Linked DNA regions of Homo sapiens: all the other regions are linked to region 1. Evidence: promoter capture Hi-C in 16 types of primary human blood cells and fetal thymus (Javierre and others, 2016). All regions are on one chromosome and are shown on one strand. Each heading gives the region's core, a stretch centred on a gene start or on the middle of the fragment in contact. The rest is flanking DNA. Distances are from core to core; before and after follow the strand shown. Region 1 holds the start of RFC4 (replication factor C subunit 4). Region 2 holds the start of DGKG (diacylglycerol kinase gamma). Region 3 has its middle 4.6 kb from the start of RTP1. Region 4 has its middle 27 kb from the start of RTP1. Region 5 holds the start of RPL39L (ribosomal protein L39 like). Region 6 overlaps RPL39L (ribosomal protein L39 like). Region 7 has its middle 43 kb from the start of RPL39L.

What was found. Contacts are between HindIII fragments. The CHiCAGO score rates a contact against its expected background, and 5 or more counts as called.
Region 2: a contact is called between the fragment with the promoter of DGKG here and the fragment with the promoter of RFC4 in region 1, in 1 of 17 cell types (M0 macrophages). The highest score is 5.1, in M0 macrophages.
Region 3: a fragment that was not itself captured here is called in contact with the fragment with the promoter of RFC4 in region 1 in 2 of 17 cell types (total B cells and naive B cells); the score reaches 5.7 in total B cells.
Region 4: a fragment that was not itself captured here is called in contact with the fragment with the promoter of RFC4 in region 1 in 9 of 17 cell types (naive B cells, total B cells, naive CD4 T cells and 6 more); the score reaches 8.1 in naive B cells.
Region 5: a fragment that was not itself captured here is called in contact with the fragment with the promoter of RFC4 in region 1 in 6 of 17 cell types (naive CD4 T cells, naive CD8 T cells, activated CD4 T cells and 3 more); the score reaches 9.7 in naive CD4 T cells.
Region 6: a contact is called between a fragment that was not itself captured here and the fragment with the promoter of RFC4 in region 1, in 6 of 17 cell types (naive CD8 T cells, naive CD4 T cells, activated CD4 T cells and 3 more). The highest score is 6.7, in naive CD8 T cells.
Region 7: a fragment that was not itself captured here is called in contact with the fragment with the promoter of RFC4 in region 1 in 5 of 17 cell types (total CD4 T cells, non-activated CD4 T cells, total CD8 T cells and 2 more); the score reaches 6.1 in total CD4 T cells.

Annotation. Positions count from the first base shown.
Region 1 is chr3:186,805,213-186,807,784 of GRCh38, reverse strand. RFC4 (replication factor C subunit 4) reads left to right here and starts at 1,303. Exons shown (of 11, transcript NM_002916.5): 1 at 1,303-1,495. RefSeq lists enhancers at 524-1,135, 1,136-1,747. The HindIII fragment of the contact is 2,364 bases long and covers 670-2,572 here.
Region 2 is chr3:186,360,945-186,363,516 of GRCh38, reverse strand. DGKG (diacylglycerol kinase gamma) reads left to right here and starts at 1,283. Exons shown (of 25, transcript NM_001346.3): 1 at 1,283-1,571. RefSeq lists a silencer at 1,124-1,213 and an enhancer at 1,998-2,515. The HindIII fragment of the contact is 2,154 bases long and covers 222-2,375 here.
Region 3 is chr3:187,191,576-187,194,147 of GRCh38, reverse strand. No RefSeq gene overlaps it. Among named protein-coding and RNA genes, the nearest start is that of RTP1, 4.6 kb to the left of the region's middle. The HindIII fragment of the contact is 1,787 bases long and covers 394-2,180 here.
Region 4 is chr3:187,169,332-187,171,903 of GRCh38, reverse strand. No RefSeq gene overlaps it. Among named protein-coding and RNA genes, the nearest start is that of RTP1, 27 kb to the left of the region's middle. RefSeq lists an enhancer at 560-1,061. The HindIII fragment of the contact is 1,735 bases long and covers 414-2,148 here.
Region 5 is chr3:187,137,237-187,139,808 of GRCh38, reverse strand. It overlaps RPL39L (ribosomal protein L39 like), which reads left to right and starts at 313. Exons shown (of 3, transcript NM_052969.3): 1 at 313-596. RefSeq lists a silencer at 173-402 and enhancers at 443-592, 633-732, 601-1,107, 2,297-2,572. The HindIII fragment of the contact is 4,719 bases long and covers 1-2,572 here.
Region 6 is chr3:187,121,189-187,123,760 of GRCh38, reverse strand. RPL39L (ribosomal protein L39 like) reads left to right here. Exons shown (of 3, transcript NM_052969.3): 3 at 2,433-2,572. The coding sequence starts at 2,461. It also overlaps the pseudogene RPL39P19. Among named protein-coding and RNA genes, the nearest start is that of RPL39L, 17 kb to the left of the region's middle. The HindIII fragment of the contact is 3,064 bases long and covers 1-2,572 here.
Region 7 is chr3:187,094,971-187,097,542 of GRCh38, reverse strand. No RefSeq gene overlaps it. Among named protein-coding and RNA genes, the nearest start is that of RPL39L, 43 kb to the left of the region's middle. The HindIII fragment of the contact is 1,128 bases long and covers 728-1,855 here.

The DNA of each region.
Region 1 (2,572 bases), core at 54-2,553:
TCAGGTAGCAAATGGATACCATCTATTTTCATAGATCTTGTTTTATCAACTGTATTGTGGTATAATTTACATACAATAAAATATACAAGCATTAAGTATACAGTTTGATAAGTTATGGTAATGTAAACCGGTGACCAGATAGATAACCTGTGTGTTTTTTATACTGTCCAGAGATTGTATCAGACTCTGTGGAAATTACAAAGTAGCATAAAGCATCCTTACTTTGGTTAAACCCTTGATTGGGTTAGGCCTGGGATGTAAGTTCTCACAGCCCCCTACTTCCTCTGCATAACCACACATCACATTGTCTGTCACTCTCCTAGTCTGTAAAGCTACTTGAGGGCATCTCGAGCGTTTTCCCTGCTGTATCTGCAGGCATCTAACACAGTGCGTGGACATTCTGTAAGCATTTGTTGCAAGATAAATGAAAAAAACGTACAAAGTTAACAATGGATATCATGCTGAGTTTGTGCCAAACAAAACAGTCATTTGAAGAAGACCCGGAACAACCTTATGGGTTAGTAATTAGTAAAGACCAGTAGAGAAGGTGGCCTTTGAGAAGGGTCAGGTTTCAATAGGATTAAGGAGCATTTCAGAGCTAAACCAAGTACTTGGAAGAGATAAAAGCAGTGGGCTCAGGCACCAGCCTAGCCCACTGTGCATGAAGCTTGGTGGGGCTAAACATGATTATCAGTCCTTTAACTTTTATTGAACGCCTTCACTTCCAGATTTCTAAGTGGGGCTCAGGAATTATAATAGATGTCCACAGCTGCATGGTCTTCTCTCTCCACAACACGCAGACACTATTAGAAGTAAAAGCCACGTGTCCTCAAGAGGGCAAGGCAAAGCATCTTCAGATGTCTCTGCCCTTAAAGCACACGCGTTCTGCTCTGCGACGAAGCAGGACAAGGAGGACAGGGACCTGCACCTCCGGAGGCCCGCACCTACGAAGATAGCGGGCTCGGGACCTTCGGTGGACCGGCAGGGTTCCAGAGGCCCGCGCGCCGCCGCCCCGCCCTCATTGCTGAGCCTGCCAGGTAAGCAGCCCCAGCGCCGTGCCCGCGCGACCTCTACTCCTTCCGGGAGGGTCGCGCTCACGTCTGAAGTGGGAGCAATGCACCGGGACAGGGACACCTCCTAGGCCATGCCTGTTCCAGTCCAGTTCTGCCTGAAAGTCCGGCTGGCTCATCACCTGCCTAAATAAAACCGTATACGGGCAAACTCCCTCCGCAAGCAGCGCGCCCCAGCACCGGAAGTGACGCGTTACGTGCCCGCGTATTCCTACCGGCGTATTCCCGCCCTGCTTTTCGCCCGCCGTTCCGTGGCGGGAACTGAGGCGACTGTGGGGACATCAGTGATCGTAAGTCTCCTGGGCCCGTTATTCTCAGATTAGGTGACGGAGCTAAGACTTCGAGACCATCTCGTCCTTTTTGTATCGCGGAAACCTGAGGAACGAGCCGGCGGCGGTGACCTGCACGAGAAGCCAGGCTAACTGGTAACCTGCTGGAGGAACTGCAAGCCCGCTTCGCCTTCCCCACTCCTGCCCTTGATGCCCCTTGTGAGGTCTTCCACCTCCTTCGGGGCCCCAGCCTAGTGGCCCTTTCATGCCCTGGCCGCGCCCTTTGGTGAAATGGTGGTTCCGGACAGCATCTTGCAGGCCCCGGCTTTGGGCTGTATTAATGTTTAACAGCCCGAGGCAGGGATGGACTAATCCAGTAACGTTATAAAAACCTTGGCTGCTAACAGATATTAAAAATTTATTTTATTGAGCATATCCCCATATGCCAAGCAAGGAACTATGTATTTGCATACATTCTTTTATTTAACTCAGTTGTCCTGTGGAATAGGCCTTAGCTCCTTTAACAGAAAAGGAAACCGGGTATCATAGATGGTAATTCATTCACCAAATATTACGGAGCATCTACCATGTACCAGGCACTGTTCTAGGCACCAGGGCATGTAGCAGTGAAAAAAATAGAATTAACCGGGGACTTTTCAGGCGAGCTAATGATGCTTTTTATCCCTGAAAACAGCCTGGAAGAATGTTTACCTGCATGTTAGAAATAGTTACCTTCTGGGTGGGATTTTGTATTACTTTTTTAAATCTCTCATGCTTTTATGCATTGTTTTGATTTCTTCAAGTGAGTGTGTTATGAGAAAAACAGCTGTTTCTATTTTAACAACAGAGTCCCCCACCTTCCCTTCCCCACAGAAAGTCTCTGAAGGTAGGTAAGCATTGACTCTGCCATGAAAATAGGTCCCTGGCCAGGCGAGATGGCTCACACCTGTAATCCCAGCACTTTGGGAGGCCGGGGCAGGAGGATTACTTGAGCCCAGGAGTTCCAGACCAGCCTAGGCAACATGGTGAAACCCTGTCTCTACCAAAAATTTAAAAAATTAGCCGGGGGTGGTGGCACGCACCTGTAGTCCTAGCTACTGGGGAGGCTGAAGTGGGAAGATGACAGGAGCCTGGGATGTCAAGGCTGCAGTGAACCATGATTCCGCCACTGCACTCCATCCTAGGCAAAAGAGTGAGACCCTGTCTCAAAAACAACAACAACAAAAAAAGGTC
Region 2 (2,572 bases), core at 34-2,533, 440 kb after region 1:
ACGGGGTTCTGGTATCAGCTCTGTCTTCATCACTGTGTGGAATCTTAAGGAGATCTCTCAGCTCTGTTTCTCATCTGTCTCACCAGCCTGCCTGCAGATAGCCTAGTATGGACACCACCCAACAGGGTCCTCAGGGCTGTTTGACATTCGTGTTTGAGGCTTCTTCCCCAAATGCACAGACACCCAGAGCCCCTCGGCGCCTCCACACTCTGCGGAAAGCTTTTCTTGGCTGCAGTGCTGGCCCGGGGACCTTCACTGCCCACTGGCAGAAAAGAATTCTCGGCTGTGGAAATGAGTAAACTCCACATATTTTAAAGATGACAGTCTAAACTCCTAATGACTCTAAATGTGGTGTGAAATGGACAGCAGTCATCTTGCTGTGTGACATGCCTGAAATAGTGTCACCACCACCATCACCCCCTCACGTGGACATGCACGTCATGGAAAGAGAAGCAACAAGTCATAGTGCCTTGGCTAATGTAGCTCCCCTATTCCCCCCGACCCCTCACCCCAGCGTCTTTTCTGTGCTCTTCTACATTTTAAAAAAAGAAGAGATCTATTTATTCTGCAGGAATACAGTCCAAGGTCACCTAAAAGCAAAGGAGAATGGGAATTAAACACACCCAGAGACCCGACCCATCCAACAGAGTCCAGCTCAGGCAGGCTGTGCCAGTCTCCACCAGGCTACGAGGGGAAAACCTTTTCGAGTTGAACTGCCACCAATCCACTGCCACCGAAGTCAAGGTTGTCAGAAATGACCCTCTGGACAGGGCTAGTGATTTGGATCCTAGAGATACTGAGTTCCTGGGAAACAAAGAGAACTTGTTGATTTTGTATTTTTATTTTTTCTTCGATTTGGTCGGGATATTACGGTAGCCTTGACCAGAGTTGAGAAAAGGAAACGCCCAGTCGGTATTTATTTGTCAAACAGTTGTCCTTTGCCTCCGGGGTCAGGGGCCCTCTGGTACCCACCACTGTTGCATCCTCTCCACACTCCTAAGCCTGTAACTCCTCCTCCCAAACCGAAGCCCTGTCAGTAAAAAGCGTCCTAATGATGCCCGCGCCCTAGTTGCACCAAAGGGGGTCAGGTTCCCATCGAGCGGATCCACATTCGTGTGTGCGCACGCGTGTGCATGTGTGGAAGCGCGTGTCTGTGTGTGCCGTGTGTGTACGCGCGCGCGCCGGTGTGTGTGGCGGGGGCGGGCTCTGCGCCCGGGGGCAGGGCTCCGCAGTGAGAGTGGCAGCTGGACTTGCCAGGCTGCGAGGGGCAGGGCACAGAGCCGCAGTGCCGTAGTAGCGGGCCACGGAGATAGACAGCTTTGGAGCTGCTGAACTCCGAGCACAGGGTGAAGACCCCGGCGCTACCAACCACAGCCTGGCAGCCTGGTCTCCGCGGCACCCACTGGGGCTGCATCCCCCTCCCCCGAGAGGGCTGCGCAGGCGGGAAGACGCCCAGAGGCCAGCTTCGGTCCCCCTTCTGTCTCTCGGTTCCTCTTTCCTCCCAAGTAAGGGAATAAACCGCGAAGAAGGAGCGCCCCGGGCCACCGCGCAACCAAGTGTTGCCTGGTGAGGTAAGACGGCGGCCGGCGCGGCGGAGGGGGTCCCCGGCTCAGGGAGCACCCGGTGCAGCAACTTGGTAAAGGAGGGCAAAGCGGGAGCCGGTCCCGCGGCCAGGGAAGGGGCTGCAGCCAAAGCCACGGCGCCCACCCCGACAGTTCCACCTGCCACAAAGCCCTGCAGGAAGGGATGCCCCGCTCGAGGGGTGCAGGCTTGGGGAACGCACAGGGTGGGGCTCGGCTCTCTCTGCGACTGAGAGGCCCCCTCAAGCCTCAAAGCTGTGCGGGTGGGAGGCGGCCTTGCTCCAGGCAGTTTGCTAAAGCAACTGGTCGGATTTCCTTCTTCTTCTGGACTTAACCTTGGCTCCTTGATATCCAGTTCGCGCTCCAGGCAGTCCGAGAAGCAGGAGATGCTTTTCCTAATGTCTGGCCGCCAAAGCCTCCGACCGTCCCGCGGGGTTCTAGGACTTTGGGGGCACTCCACAAAGCCCCTGCGCAGGGCGACTTAAAGGGAAGCTGAAGCGAACACGGACACCTCAGAGAATAAAGGAGGGAAGGGTCGAATCTGAGGTTGATCTGTGTAGTCTCAGAGTCACAAGATGTGTCCGTGTGTGTGCTTGTGTCCTGAGGAGTGCGTACCCGGAGTCACCTGTGGTGCTTTCGCAGACTCCACCGGTCCACCTCCCCTTGCCTAGTCTGAGATTTTCTTCGTTTGAACTAGTGGAATAGAATTAGGGGAGGGGGCTGTGGAGTTCTAAAAAGCCCTACAGGTGATTTGACGTGCTGCCCCCATCCCCACCATCACTGCAGTGGAAAGCTTGGGACTAGAGCTAGAACCACCTCCCAGATGGGAGGGATGAGCTGCGGAACTCAGGGTGGCGGTCGAGACCCCTCCCCCAGTCGCCCCCCGCGGCGGGAGCGTCTGCTGCAGCGCGAAGCGATCTGTGGCTGCGCCGCAGTGGTGCCCGGGAGCGCTGTGAACCCGTGGGCGCGCTCTCCCGCGCTGCGCCGCTGCC
Region 3 (2,572 bases), core at 38-2,537, 390 kb before region 1:
CCCTTCATTAAACTTTCAGTCCTTCAAGTCAGTATTCTTACCTCTGAATTAAGGCAACCAACACCTAAATAAGTAAACTCGTTTAACAAACCTCACAGATATGATGGGAACTGCCTCAGGTGGGAGTTACTGGCCAAAATGAGAATGGGGGCTGTGGACCTTCCCAGAAAATACGTGAAGCTGAGAGGAGCTTATAACAAACAGTGCTACCCAGAACAAATCCTCTAGAAGTATTTTGCAGGTGTTGCTACAATAAACACTATGATGACAGAAGACAGAAAGTAAGAATCACCAGAGGGGTGTGTGTGTGTGTGTGTGTGAGTGTGTGTGTGTGTGTAACCAGCTGATGCAATCCCCATTGGCACAAATTAAGTTTTATTTAGAACCCAAGCTTGCTGTGCAGAGGCCAATATAATGCATCCTTCTGGATAGCAGAGTATTTTCTCTAATAAAAATTTCTATCAAGACAGAAAAAAATACTGTGGTATTGCAACTTGCTCTCTATCAAATGACCTCTAACACCATGGAATCTACAATTTAGAGAAGGCCAATTCAGACATCTCTAAAGCTGTTGGCCTCACCCTGGTCAATTTCTTAAAGTTTGTGATCATGTTTTAAGTGGATAAAATGCTTTAAATTAAGTTCCCAACTAGAAAATAGAGCAATGAAAAGAAAAAACAAGCCTCTAATTTTTTTTCTTGAAATGATGCACTCATGAAAAATTCTCAACTATGCACAATTTTCTATCCCTAAATGGCATTTGAGAAGAAGGAGGGGTGTGTTTTAGGGCTGGACCCATGACTGGAAGTTTCTACTGGTACCCTGTACCAAAGATCTAAATGTGCCTCACAGTCCCAAAACAAAGACTCTTTCCTTCCAGAATGCCCCAACATTGCTGGACCAGAACAGTAAGCCCCTCCATCTGTTGATTTAATGATATTAAGAGCCCATGTAGTAGTCTCAACTTTAAAGGAATTTTTAATTTTCTTCTCTAATGGCAACATTTTTTTTCCTTGGGTACTAAGATTTCTAAAATAGCAGAGATCAAAGTTATGGGTACAGAAAGAAAAGGGAAAAAAAACTAGTTTACCATTAGGGCTAATTTTGAGAAAGCCAGTCCATTCTACCCTTTAATTCTTGGAACTAAGCACTATATCATCATGGTTGCTAATTCTGAGCATGTACCACATCCTGGAGAACATTATCCTAGCCCTGCAAGGTCCTGTCCCCCAGCTGATTCTATAACTGAGTCTTCCAAAGACCACCACATTGTTCAATCAGGCCAACTACTTCAGGATTATGGGTGATATAGTTAAGACTAATGAATTTCATGAGTGTGAGCTCATTGCCAGATTTCCTTTACTTTGAAATGAGTTGCCAGTCAGAAGCAATGCTATATGGAATATCACAATGGTATATAAGGAATTCTCTAAATCCACTGCTAAGTGCCTGATATGGTTTGGATTTGTGTCCCCACCCAAATCTCATGTTGAATTGTAATCCCCAATGTTGGAAGAGGGTCCTGGTGGGAGGTGATTGGATTATAGTGGTGGATTTCCCCCTTGCTCTTCTGGTGATAGTGAGTGAGTTCTCATGAGATCTGGTTGTTTAAATGAGTGTAGCACCTCCCCCTTCGCTCTCTCTTCCTCCTGCTTCAGCCACGTAAGACAAGCCTGCTTTCCTTCACCTTCCGTCATGATTGTAAGTTTCCTAAGGCCTCCTCAGCTATGCTACCTGTACAGCCTATGGAACCCTGAGCCAATTAAACCTCTTTTCTTTATATTAATAAATTACCCAGTCTCAGGTATTTCTTTTTAGCAGTGCAAGAATGGACTAATACAATGCCCAAATTCCAAAAACAGAGAGAGACCAACACTGAACAATTGATTGGGCCATGATTCCATGGGAAACAACCAACGACCTGGTGGCAAGTTGATTACACTGGACCATTTCCATCAAGGAAGGGATAGACCTTTGTTTTCACTGGAAGAAACAATTACCGTGAATATGGACTTCCCTTCCTCTCCACAATGCCTCTGCCATTTGTGAACTTTCATAATGCCTTATTCACCATTATGGTATTTCTCCACTTGGGTCTTTCCTTTTAGCTGCTCAGGCTTCTTCACTACATGGTAGTTTGTTTCCAAGAAGATTCATTCTAGGAAGAATAAATGGAAGCTTCCAGTCCTCCTTAAGGCTAGAGTCAGAAGTCCCATAACATCACTCCTGTCATATTCTGTTGATGAAAGCAATCACAGGGCCAGCCCGATATAGGGGAATGGGAAATAAACTTCAACTCTTGATGGGGAAATTGCCTGTGCCTATAGGAAGGGAAGGAATTGGTGGCAGCCATCTTTGGAGACTTTCTACCACAGTACCTGATTATTTTTCTTCATCCTTCAAAGAGCTTAGTGCCTTGAGAACACGATGTCCAATTCTATGATGTAGGTAGAGGTTGACATTATTTTGCAAAAAAAAAAAAAAAAAAAAGCAAACTAAGGATCAAAAAGGCAAAGTAGCCAAAGAGTAAACTAATCCAGCAAGTCCAATCCCAAAACATAGCCAGATAGGA
Region 4 (2,572 bases), core at 32-2,531, 360 kb before region 1:
GTATTAGTGCTTCTATTAATGTTACTGGGAACCAAGATTTTTATGGTAATCAAAAAGAGATTGGAAATACATAAAATCTAAGATGGTAAATAAAAATTCCTATTATCTGAATTTGAATTGGAAATATAAGTATTATATCATAATGAAATTGTATTGCCCATAAAAATTATGAACTTCCTAACTTTGTCTATTACACAGACCTGAAAGAAATAAATCATCAATCCATTAGCAACAAGTACCTCTCAGCACCTGGATCACCAAAAGTGATCAGAACTTTCTGGAAAAATAATTCCTTCAGATATAAGTCAATAAATGTATAAAATGAGCCTGGAATATTTTCTTGTACCAGATTTCAAAAATTCCTATTGTCATGTCAAAAGACAAAAGGCAAATGAAACTAACCTGAAGAAGCTTTCACTGGCCAAAAACAAAATAATTGGATCATCAAAAAGAATAATGGCCACAATTCATTGAAGTACATCAAATATGCTAAAAATCCATAAATTAATAATGATATTTTAAATAAAAAAAACCAACTATTTATTTCAAAAATAGGCAAGGGAAAAATATTACATATTTATCTTGGCTTCCTTATGTAATCTGCATTTTGTGATAACCAAATAATAGTTGAGGGGAAGCTATTCTTTAGAGAAGAATTACAATTAATAAAAGAAAAGGGGCCGAGGCGCAGTGGTTCACACCTGTAATCTCAGCACTTTGGGAGGCCAAGTAGGGAGATCACTTGAGGTCAGGAGTTTGAGACCAGCCTGTCCAATGTGGTGAAACCCCATCTCTACTAAAAATACAAAAAAATCAGCTGGGCCTGGTGGAGCACACTGGTAATCCCAGCTACTCGCGAAGCTGAGGCATGAGAATTACTTGAACCCAGGTGGTGGGGGTTGCAGTGAGCTGAGATTGCGCCACTGAACTCCAGCCTGGGTGACAGAGCAAGACTCTATCTCAAAAAGTAAATAAATAAAAAATAAAAGGGAACAATAGGATCAGAATATCACTATTTTGCAGTCCTAATGAAATAATGATAAAGAAAAAAATCTAAATCTGCTAAACTCATTAATTAAGATGTTGTGGGGAACTTTATAGTGGATGGGTCAGGCTGACACCATCTGATCTTACTGATCAATTAAGAAAAGAAAGGCAATCAGACATCACGTGTCTCCTAATATAACGCTGCAGGAACAGTCCAACACTAGCACTGAAATAGTCACATTAAAAAATCCAAATCTGGCTGGGTGCGGTGGCTCACGCCTATAATCCCAGCACTTTGAGAAGCCAAAGTGGGTGTATCACGAGGTCAGAAGTTCGAGAACAGCCTGACCAACATGATGAAACCCTGTCTCTACTAAAAATACAAAATTTAGCTGGGCATGGTGGCGCGTGCCTGTAATCCCAGCTACTCAGGAGCCTGAGGCAGGAGAATCGCTTGAACCCGGGAGGCAGAGGTTGCAGTGAGCCTAGATCGTGCCACTGCACTCCAGCCTGGGTGACAGAGTGAGACTTCCAAAAAAAAAAAAAAAAAAAACATACCTGATCAGGCCTGTAGATAGTCTAGAGGAAATACGAAGTATGAGGAAACGTCTCAGACAAAAACCACAAGAATGTATCACCAAAGTCCAAAATGTGAGCAATTCTACAAGATACATGATTTTTTTTCCAAATAAATAAATGGTAAAGAAGAAGAGGGGGAAGGAGGACTGCTATAAAGTTAAAAAGAATTGAGACGCACAACCCGATGTGATATGTGAACTTTCTGACTGAATCAAATCAACTATAAAAAGGCATGTTTGAGATAACACAGACAACTTAATTATGTACTAAATTAGATGATTTTAAGGAATTCTTTTTGAAGAATTATGAGGAATTATGAAGAATGATTATGAAGAATTTCAAGGAGTTGCATTTGGAAATTTGAAATTTAAAAAAAATTTTAATAGTAAAAACAAAAGCAGAAGGTAAAAGGGAATAAAACTGTAAATAAGATGGATCCAGGACTGGATTTGGGGCATAGATGTATACATGTGTTATAGGAGTACCACAAAACAAGCTCTATGTTTGCAGCTACCAATGTGAGAAGGGAGAGAAAAATAGTGAGAAAGTGCTCAGTACCTACTCAGCAAAAACAAACAAGCTTTTCAGGTAGAGCATCATTCTACTGCTAAGTCCTGAGCAAATCCTCTGCCCTGGATCATCACTTAAAACAAATCCAGGACAGCTTCCCTTTTTAATTTGATTGGCCAAATATTTAAATCCTTTACTCCATACCCCAACCACCTGAACTATATAAGACCAAAAGACCCCTCATCATTTAAGAAACATTTGTTGAACTCTACTATATTTCAGTATGTGTGGTAAGAGTAAAGTATTTATTTACAAAGAAGGCAGACTCTGCTGTCAGTGAACTTAGAGTCTATAGTGATTTGCTGGCATTCATACAACCATCACATCATGCCAAGATAGATAGGTCATGAGAGCGAATAACAAAGATCTCTGGAAGCGGAAGGATTCCTCTTCAAATTCTCAGGACAAGTTAAGGTTTCTTACAGAAACACCATAA
Region 5 (2,572 bases), core at 45-2,544, 330 kb before region 1:
CTCGCGGGAACCCAAGCTGTGAGCCTCTGGCCCCGCCAGGGCGTACGAATCCTTTCCTCGTTTATCCAGTATTAAGTCACGCTGTGTGCTAAGTACCGTGGCCAGGCAGCAGCTAGACAACGCGCTGAGGTAAAATAGAGAACTAAGGAAGAATGGGGGACCCCAAAGTCAACTTGGTGACACATCACACGCAGGAGTCGGACCCACGGCTCCCCGAGCCACAGCTCAGTGGGGCGGGACCGCCCGGGCCTGGGCGGGGCCGGGGCGGGGCCTGTCACGGGGGAAATCACCGCCCTAGCATCCGGGGAAATCGCGGTCTTAGCATCCGGCGCGCGGCGGTTGAATTGCTGCGCCCAGCGAGGCAACCGCCTCCGAACGCCAGGTGGGGGCGAGGCGTCTCGGAGTCTCAGAGACACCAAGGCCCCTGCGACAAGGTGGCTGCAGCTAGGCCGGGGGCGTCAGGACGACGGAGCGGGTTCGGGTCGGTGACACGCAGACCTGAGGGAGCTGGGCCCGCCTTTTCCGCCCGCGCCCCAGGCCCTTGCAGATCGAGATTTGCGTCCTAGAGTGGGAAAAAAGCAGAGGCCAGGGCGCCGGTAAGTAAAGGTTCCTCCTCACCCGCCGCCAGGGCCCGGTCCGCCCAACGAGCAGGGCGGCGTGAGGGTCACGGGCTGGAAACAACAATGCCACAGCTCAAGCCGACTCCAACAGTAGTAGCGTTTTTGTTTGTTTGTTTGTTTGTTTGTTTTTTGAGACAGGGTCTCCCTCCGTCGCCCAGGCTGGAGTGCAGTGGTGTGATCTCGGCTCACTGCAACCTCCGCCTCCGGATTCAAGCGATTCTCCCGCCTTAGCCTCCTGAGTAGCTGGGGTTACAGGCGCGCGCCACCACACTCGGCTAATTTTTGTATTTTTAGTAAAGACGGGTTTCACCATATTGGTCACACCAGTCTCGAACTCCCGACCTCAGGTGATCCGCCCGCCTCGGCCTCCCAAAGTGCTGGGATTACAGGCGTGAGGCACTGCTCCTGGCCTACAGTAGTGGCTTCTGGAGGCCACTCAGGCACCCCCTGTTTCTAGCTTAGAGAAGGAGGAAATCGACAATAAAGTAGCCTTAAAGGGATCCATGTTCCGCCCTGCCACCTCTTCAGATGTCAGCGTTGTCCAACTAGTGTCCCTAGAATTACCCAGGATGTGAGTGGCACTGATTCATCAGTGGTTTAATCAGCAAAACCAAGTGTCTTACCTATCTGCCTCATCTGCTCACTGCCTCTTTCCAAGGCGTTCTCACAGGCGCAAACACTTTCTTTTCCTCCATTAATTCCAGTAGGTAAGATTTTGCAGTCTCCTTTAAGGTCCCCGTTTCTCAAAGATAGCCCAAGGAATCTCGCCACTTCCTTGCCTTTTACACATCTGGATTCATCCAGAGACATAAACCCTGACCAGGACTAGCTTCAAAAGGGTCCCACCCGTGCAGTCACATAGGGCTCAGAAGGGCCCTGTACTTACTTTCTTGCTCTGCTATGGCAATCTTGAAATTCTTAATTTTTAAACCAGCACCCGCCTCCCCTCCCCGCCACCTCCACAACATTTTCATTTTGCACTGGGCCTGGCCTTAATTCTCAATTTTCTCAAAGGCTGTCATGTAACTATATAAAAATATAGTTAAAAGAGTTTCTTCTCTAGACATGTCTTTAGTCACTAGGACATCAAGAGACAGGACGGATGCTTCTATTAACTGAGAGTTGTTGGAATCATAAAGGCTTTGTAATCCAATAGTCACCCTCCACGCCTTCTCAATTTCAGAACCTAAGAGAGTTTGCTTAGAGAAAGAACCTGAGAGGTTGTAAAGCTGAGCTGACCAAAGCTCATTGAATCACATGTAGCTATTCAGCACTTGAAATGTGGCTGGTCTGAAAAAAGATGTGCTACAAATGTTAAAACGCACACCAGCTTTTAAAGTCTCTTTTTTTCCTTTTTTTTTTTTTTTGAGACGGAGTATCCTTCTGTCGCTGGAGTGCAGTGGCGCAATCCTGGCTCACTGCAACTTCTGCTGCCTGGGTTCAAGTGATTCTCCCGTCTCAGCCTCCCGAGTAGCTGGGATTGTGGTAGCTGTGCCTGCCACCACACCCGGCTAATTTTTGTATTTTTAGTAAAGACGGGGTTTCACCATGTTGGCCATGGTTGGCCAGGCTGGTCTCGAATTCCTGACCTCAGATGATCTGCCCGCATCAGCCTCCCAAAGTGCTGGGATTGCAGGCGTGAGCCACCGCACCCGGCCAATTTTTCTTTTTCTTTTTTGAAGACGGAGTCTTACTCTGTTGCCCAGGCTGGAGTGCAGTGGTGCAACCTCGGCTCACTGCAGCCTCCGCCTCCCGGGTTCAGGTGATCCTCCTGCCTCACCTCCCCAAGTAGCTGGGACTACAGGCATGTGCCACCACGCTGTCTAATTATTTTGTATTTTTAGTAGAGACGGGGTTTCACCATGTTGGCCAGGCTGGTCTGGAACTCCTGACCTCAGGTGATCCTGAGCATTTTGGCCTCCCAAAATGCTGGGATTACAGGTGTGAGCCAC
Region 6 (2,572 bases), core at 19-2,518, 320 kb before region 1:
TCTTTATCTTACTACAGTAGATTTTTCTTACAGAAGACTTTCAAACAAGATTGGCTTCAAGAACCCTAACCAGTACAACCAGGGTTCCCAAGGGAGAGGGTGTTAAGACTCTGGGTTTGTTGGCAACCCAGTCTAGTTCTTTCCCTGTATTCTTGAAGACTTTTTTTCTGAAGTGGTTGGAGCCAAATAGTCACTGATAGATTGTATAGAGGGAATTAATATACAAAGGGTAGAACAGGGTCTGCTAGATAGCTAGCTAAAGTCAGCATGTGGTCAATTTAAGATGAACTGTGATTGGTAGCTAAAAGTTCTTTGCTGCTAATGTATGGGAAGAAAATAAAAGGATTGGGCAGAAATAGTAGTGTACTTTCCCTATCTTTATCACCCATTTGGCATTTTCAGGCCTATTTGTTATTCTCGTAACCTGTAGACTCCTACAAGGATACTTGCGGCTTAGTTTTCAATGTTTTATATTTCATGAAACATTTGTATCTCAACCACACCCCACACTATACCCCAACTTAGTTGCCTACTCATCTGTTACTTGCACATAAAGTCTCCTGCTCCTGAAAGTTCCCAGTGGGAAGATGTACAAATCTGGGGACACTGGCCTCCCCACTAGGGCAGTTGTCTCAGAAGTGTCTGAAGTTTGGATATTAGGGTTGAAAGGCAGACAGTATAATTAGCACTCTTATTTCTTCTGGTATTTCCTTACCATGATATTTATGGGTTGCCCATCAATTTGGACTTTTTTTCCACCCCATTTTTCAATACCTAGACTAATAGGTATTTCTATTGAGAACTTCCTTTTTCTCTTTTTTAAATTTTCCTCTATTTTCTTTTGGTTATTTTGAGAGCTGAAATTCACAGAAGTATCCTAAATTATCTTTTCCAAAATTGTTATAGCAAAGACTGCTAGTTATCTACTCTGCTATTCATTCTTCTTCCTTTTTCTTTAGCAGAACCTGATTTGTGTGGGGTTAGGGGCATCATGTGCTCAGCTAAAAAACTATAGTGCCCATCCTTCATTACTGCTAAGGATGGCAGTGGAACACAGTTCTTGCCAATAAGGTGTAATCAAAGGTATTGAGAGAGATACCTAGTAAAGCTCCTTAAAAGCCGGTAGCCTCACAGCATGTACTCTTTTGCCTTTCTTTCTTTCTTTCTCTTCTTCCTGCCTGCATGTTAGGGGAGATGCCAGACATAGAATAAACATCTCACAACAGTGAGCCATAAGACAGAAACCAAGATAATAGCTTGGGTCACATCTGAAGAGACTGGGTTAGACACTGTGTGTGAACTCAGACAGTCAGAAACAGTCATACTTTTTGCACACTACCACTATCCCCATTATCTTAGAGTTAAAAAAAAATGCCTTTGTCATGACAGATCCATACTGTTTGTATATCTCCAACACTGTTTGCAGTAAGACTTTACTGCCATCATGTAATTACTCTCACAATCTGAGATGTAGACATTATTTTGCATCTGAATCATTAAAAATAACTACTGTGTCTCTGGCCCCAGGTTGATGTTCGTTAATTATGGAGGACCCAAGATCTTTAAATGGAGTGGTAGCATGCAATTCAGTAGATGGCAATGTGGTCAATTTTGATAATTAGATAAAAATATTAGTATGCACAGCCAGTGGCTTTTAAAATAGTAGTAACATGAAAGTACCGTGAGATAGTTTTACAGCAAATCGCATGTTTTAAATGTATACATTCATATTTTAAGTGTTGTGGGGATGAATTACTTGTTTTATAGGTTTCTATTTTCAACCATGTTTTCCTGTTCTGTACTATTTGCCATAGCAGGACACTGGAAAAGATTTAAGACCTCCAAATGTAAAGGGTTATTGAGAAAGAGTTGCCAAAAAAGGGTCACATATTAGTTAGATAAGTTGTAGTTACAAAATAATATCTACAATATCTCAATTTATAGAAAGACAATATTCTGCATGTACATCTGTCTTAACTGGAAGGCTCTTATAATATCAAGTTGTTAATATTGGGGCTTTTTCTAGCTAGATGGGATAATAGTTTTTTTTAGTGTTCTATTGCTTTAATTTTTCTGTAATGAACTGGTATTACCTGTTCGTAACTTTTTTAAAGTTGAAAATAATTCCTCTTGATGGACATTTAACAAGAGAAGCAGAAGTATGTTGCTGAGAAATGAGTAGCATCAAGTCAGGAACAGTAGGAACAAAGGGACTCCTGCCTTTGCTGCTGATCCACCAGAACAGCCATCAGACTCCTCAGACCGCTGCTGGCTCCTGAGCTGCTCCTGAGCTGCCTGTGGGATCCTGAGTGGCAATGAGCCCTCGCTGTGGCACTAAAGATCCTCTTTCTTGTCTTGTTATTTCTTCATGTTACCTTATCCTATCCTATGGTAATATTGTCTCTGTCTCTCTCTCCCTTTCTCCGCCATAGTGGTGTGTGGTTGACTCTGTTTCTCGCCATGTCTTCTCACAAGACTTTCACCATTAAGCGATTCCTGGCCAAGAAACAAAAGCAAAATCGTCCCATCCCCCAGTGGATTCAGATGAAACCTGGTAGTAAAATCAGGTACA
Region 7 (2,572 bases), core at 42-2,541, 290 kb before region 1:
TGAGTAGAATGTTCTGTAAATATCTGTTAAGTCCATTTGTTCTAGCATATAGTTGAAGTCCACTGCTTCTTTGTTAACTTTCTGTCTCAGTGATCTTTCTAGTGCTGTCAGTGGAGTATGGAAATTTCCCACTATTACTGTGTTGCTGTCTATCTCATTTCTTTGATTTAGTAGTGATTGTTTCATAAATCTTGGAACTCTGGTGTTAGGTGCATATAAATTTATGGTTGTAATATCTTCTTGTTGGACTGATCCTTTTATCATTATATAATGTTATTCTTTGTATTTTGTTTGCTTGTGTTTGGCTGTTGTTGCTTTAAAATCTGTTTTGTCTGATATAACAATAGCTACTCTGGCTTACTTTTGGTTTCCATTTGTGTGGAATATCTTTTTCCACTCCTTTACCCTGAGTTTACATGAATTTTTATGTGTTAGGTGAGTCTCTTGAAGACAGAAGATATCTAGTTTATGTTTTTTTTTAATCCATTCTGCCATTCTGTACCTTTTAAGTGGAGCATTTAGGCCATTTACATTCATACATTCATTACATTTTATAGGCCTTATAGTTTTATGCTTTCAGGAAGTTCTATTTTGGTGCATATCAAGCTTTTCTTTCACAATTTAAAACACCTTTTAGCATTTCTTGTAGTGCTGGTTTGGTAGTGGCAAATAACCCCAGCATTTGTTTGTCTGAAAAAGACTTTATTTTGCTCTAATTTATGAAGCTTAGTTTTGCTGGATACGAAACTCTTGACTGACAATTATTGTGTTTAAGGGGTCTAAAGATAGGACACCCAATCTCTTCTAGCTTGTAAGGTTTCTGCTGAGAAGTCTGTTATTAGCCTGATATGTTTTCCTTTATAGGTTACCTGATGCTTTTGTCTCACAGCTCTTAGAATTCTTTCCTTCATATTAACTTTAGATAGCCTGATCACTTTTTGCCTTGGTGATGATCTTTTTGCAATTAATTTCTCAGATGTTCTAGGAGCTTCCTGTACTTGGATATCTAAATCTCTAGCGAGGCCAGGAAACTTTTTCTCAATTATTACTTCAAATACGTTTTCCAAACTTTTATCCTTCTCTGTTCCCTCAGGAACAACAACTCTTCTTAGGTTTGGCCATTTTACGTAGTCCCATATTTCTTGGAGACTTTGTTCTTTTGATTCTTTATCTTTATCTGATTGGGCTAATTCAAAAGCCTTGTCTTCAAGCTCTGAAATTCTTTCTTCTATTGTTCTAGTTCATTGTTGAAACTTTCCACTGTATTTTTATTTCCCTAAGTGTGTCTTTCATTTCCAGATATTCTGATTAGTTTTTCCTTATATCTATCTCTCTGGAAAATTTCTCATCCACATCCTGTATTGATTTTTAAATTTCTTTATGTTGGTTTTCACCTTTCTCCAGTATCTCCTTGAGCAGCTTAATAATAAACCTTCTGAATTCCTTATCTGGTATTTCAAAGATTTCATCTTGCTTTGGATCCAGAGATGGGGAGCTAGTATGATCTTTTCAGGGCATTATAGAACCCCATTTTGTCATATTACCAGAATCTCTTTTCTGGTTCCTTCTCATTTGGGTAGACTATTTCTTGTAATTGTTCTTGAATTTATTTTTGGTTTCATTTTTTTTAATTTCTTTTTTTTTCTCTTAAGGATGTGACTTCAATATTTATAGTTTATTACAGCTGAATTTGGTTCTTGGTGCTTTTATGAGTGAAGATTCTGTAAGAATTCCTTGCTTATAGAGAGTCTTTGTGTGATGGCTGTCTCAGATGCTACTTGTAGTATGTATGTACTTGGTATAGGCAAGTTCATTGTCTCCTGTGGGATTGGAATGGTAGGGGTCTTTTGAAGCTTATCTCATTTCCCTGTGTTGTGCACTCATATTTATTTATTTTTTCTCCATTATTTTATTTACTGAGTTAATGGCTCAAGCTTCAGGACAGTAGGGGTGGAATTGTATCCCTGGGTAGGAACCGGTTGTAGCTAAAGCAAGTGGGTAAATGCAATACCCAATGGTGGGCAGAGATCCCAGCCTTGATTAAGGTTGCTTGGGGAGCTCCCAAATAGATGCACTGAGGTCTTATCAGAGTGAAGGTTGGGAGCTATCTCAGCTCCCCTGCCAGGCCAGCAGAAAAGCTATCCACCTCCCAGCCTCACACCTGTCCCAGTGTTCCAGCTATTCAGATTATACAGGCACTTCTTTTTGTCTGTAGGAATATTGGTGTTTCAAGTAGAGAGAAATTGTGAGTCTGCTTCTTGTGCAAGCCCAAACCTGGGGAATGCTCCTTCTGTGGGGATGCAGTTGCCCTGAAGTGTTCCAGGAAGGCTGTCTGTAGGTGAATCCACACAGAGTTCCCGTGAGAGAAGCCCCAGCTGTGTCTGCAGTGGTGGACAAGTGGGGAAAGAGGACCCTTTCTCTAAGACCTTTCATGAGCACCAAGCCTGTCTGACTGTTGGATAGAGACACAGATGTCCCCTGCTGAGTCCAGTACTGCAATTGTGTCTCTGCTGAAAGAAACTTTCCCACAGGAATGATCTGGGACTCAAGGCCTGTCACCCAGATTATTTTG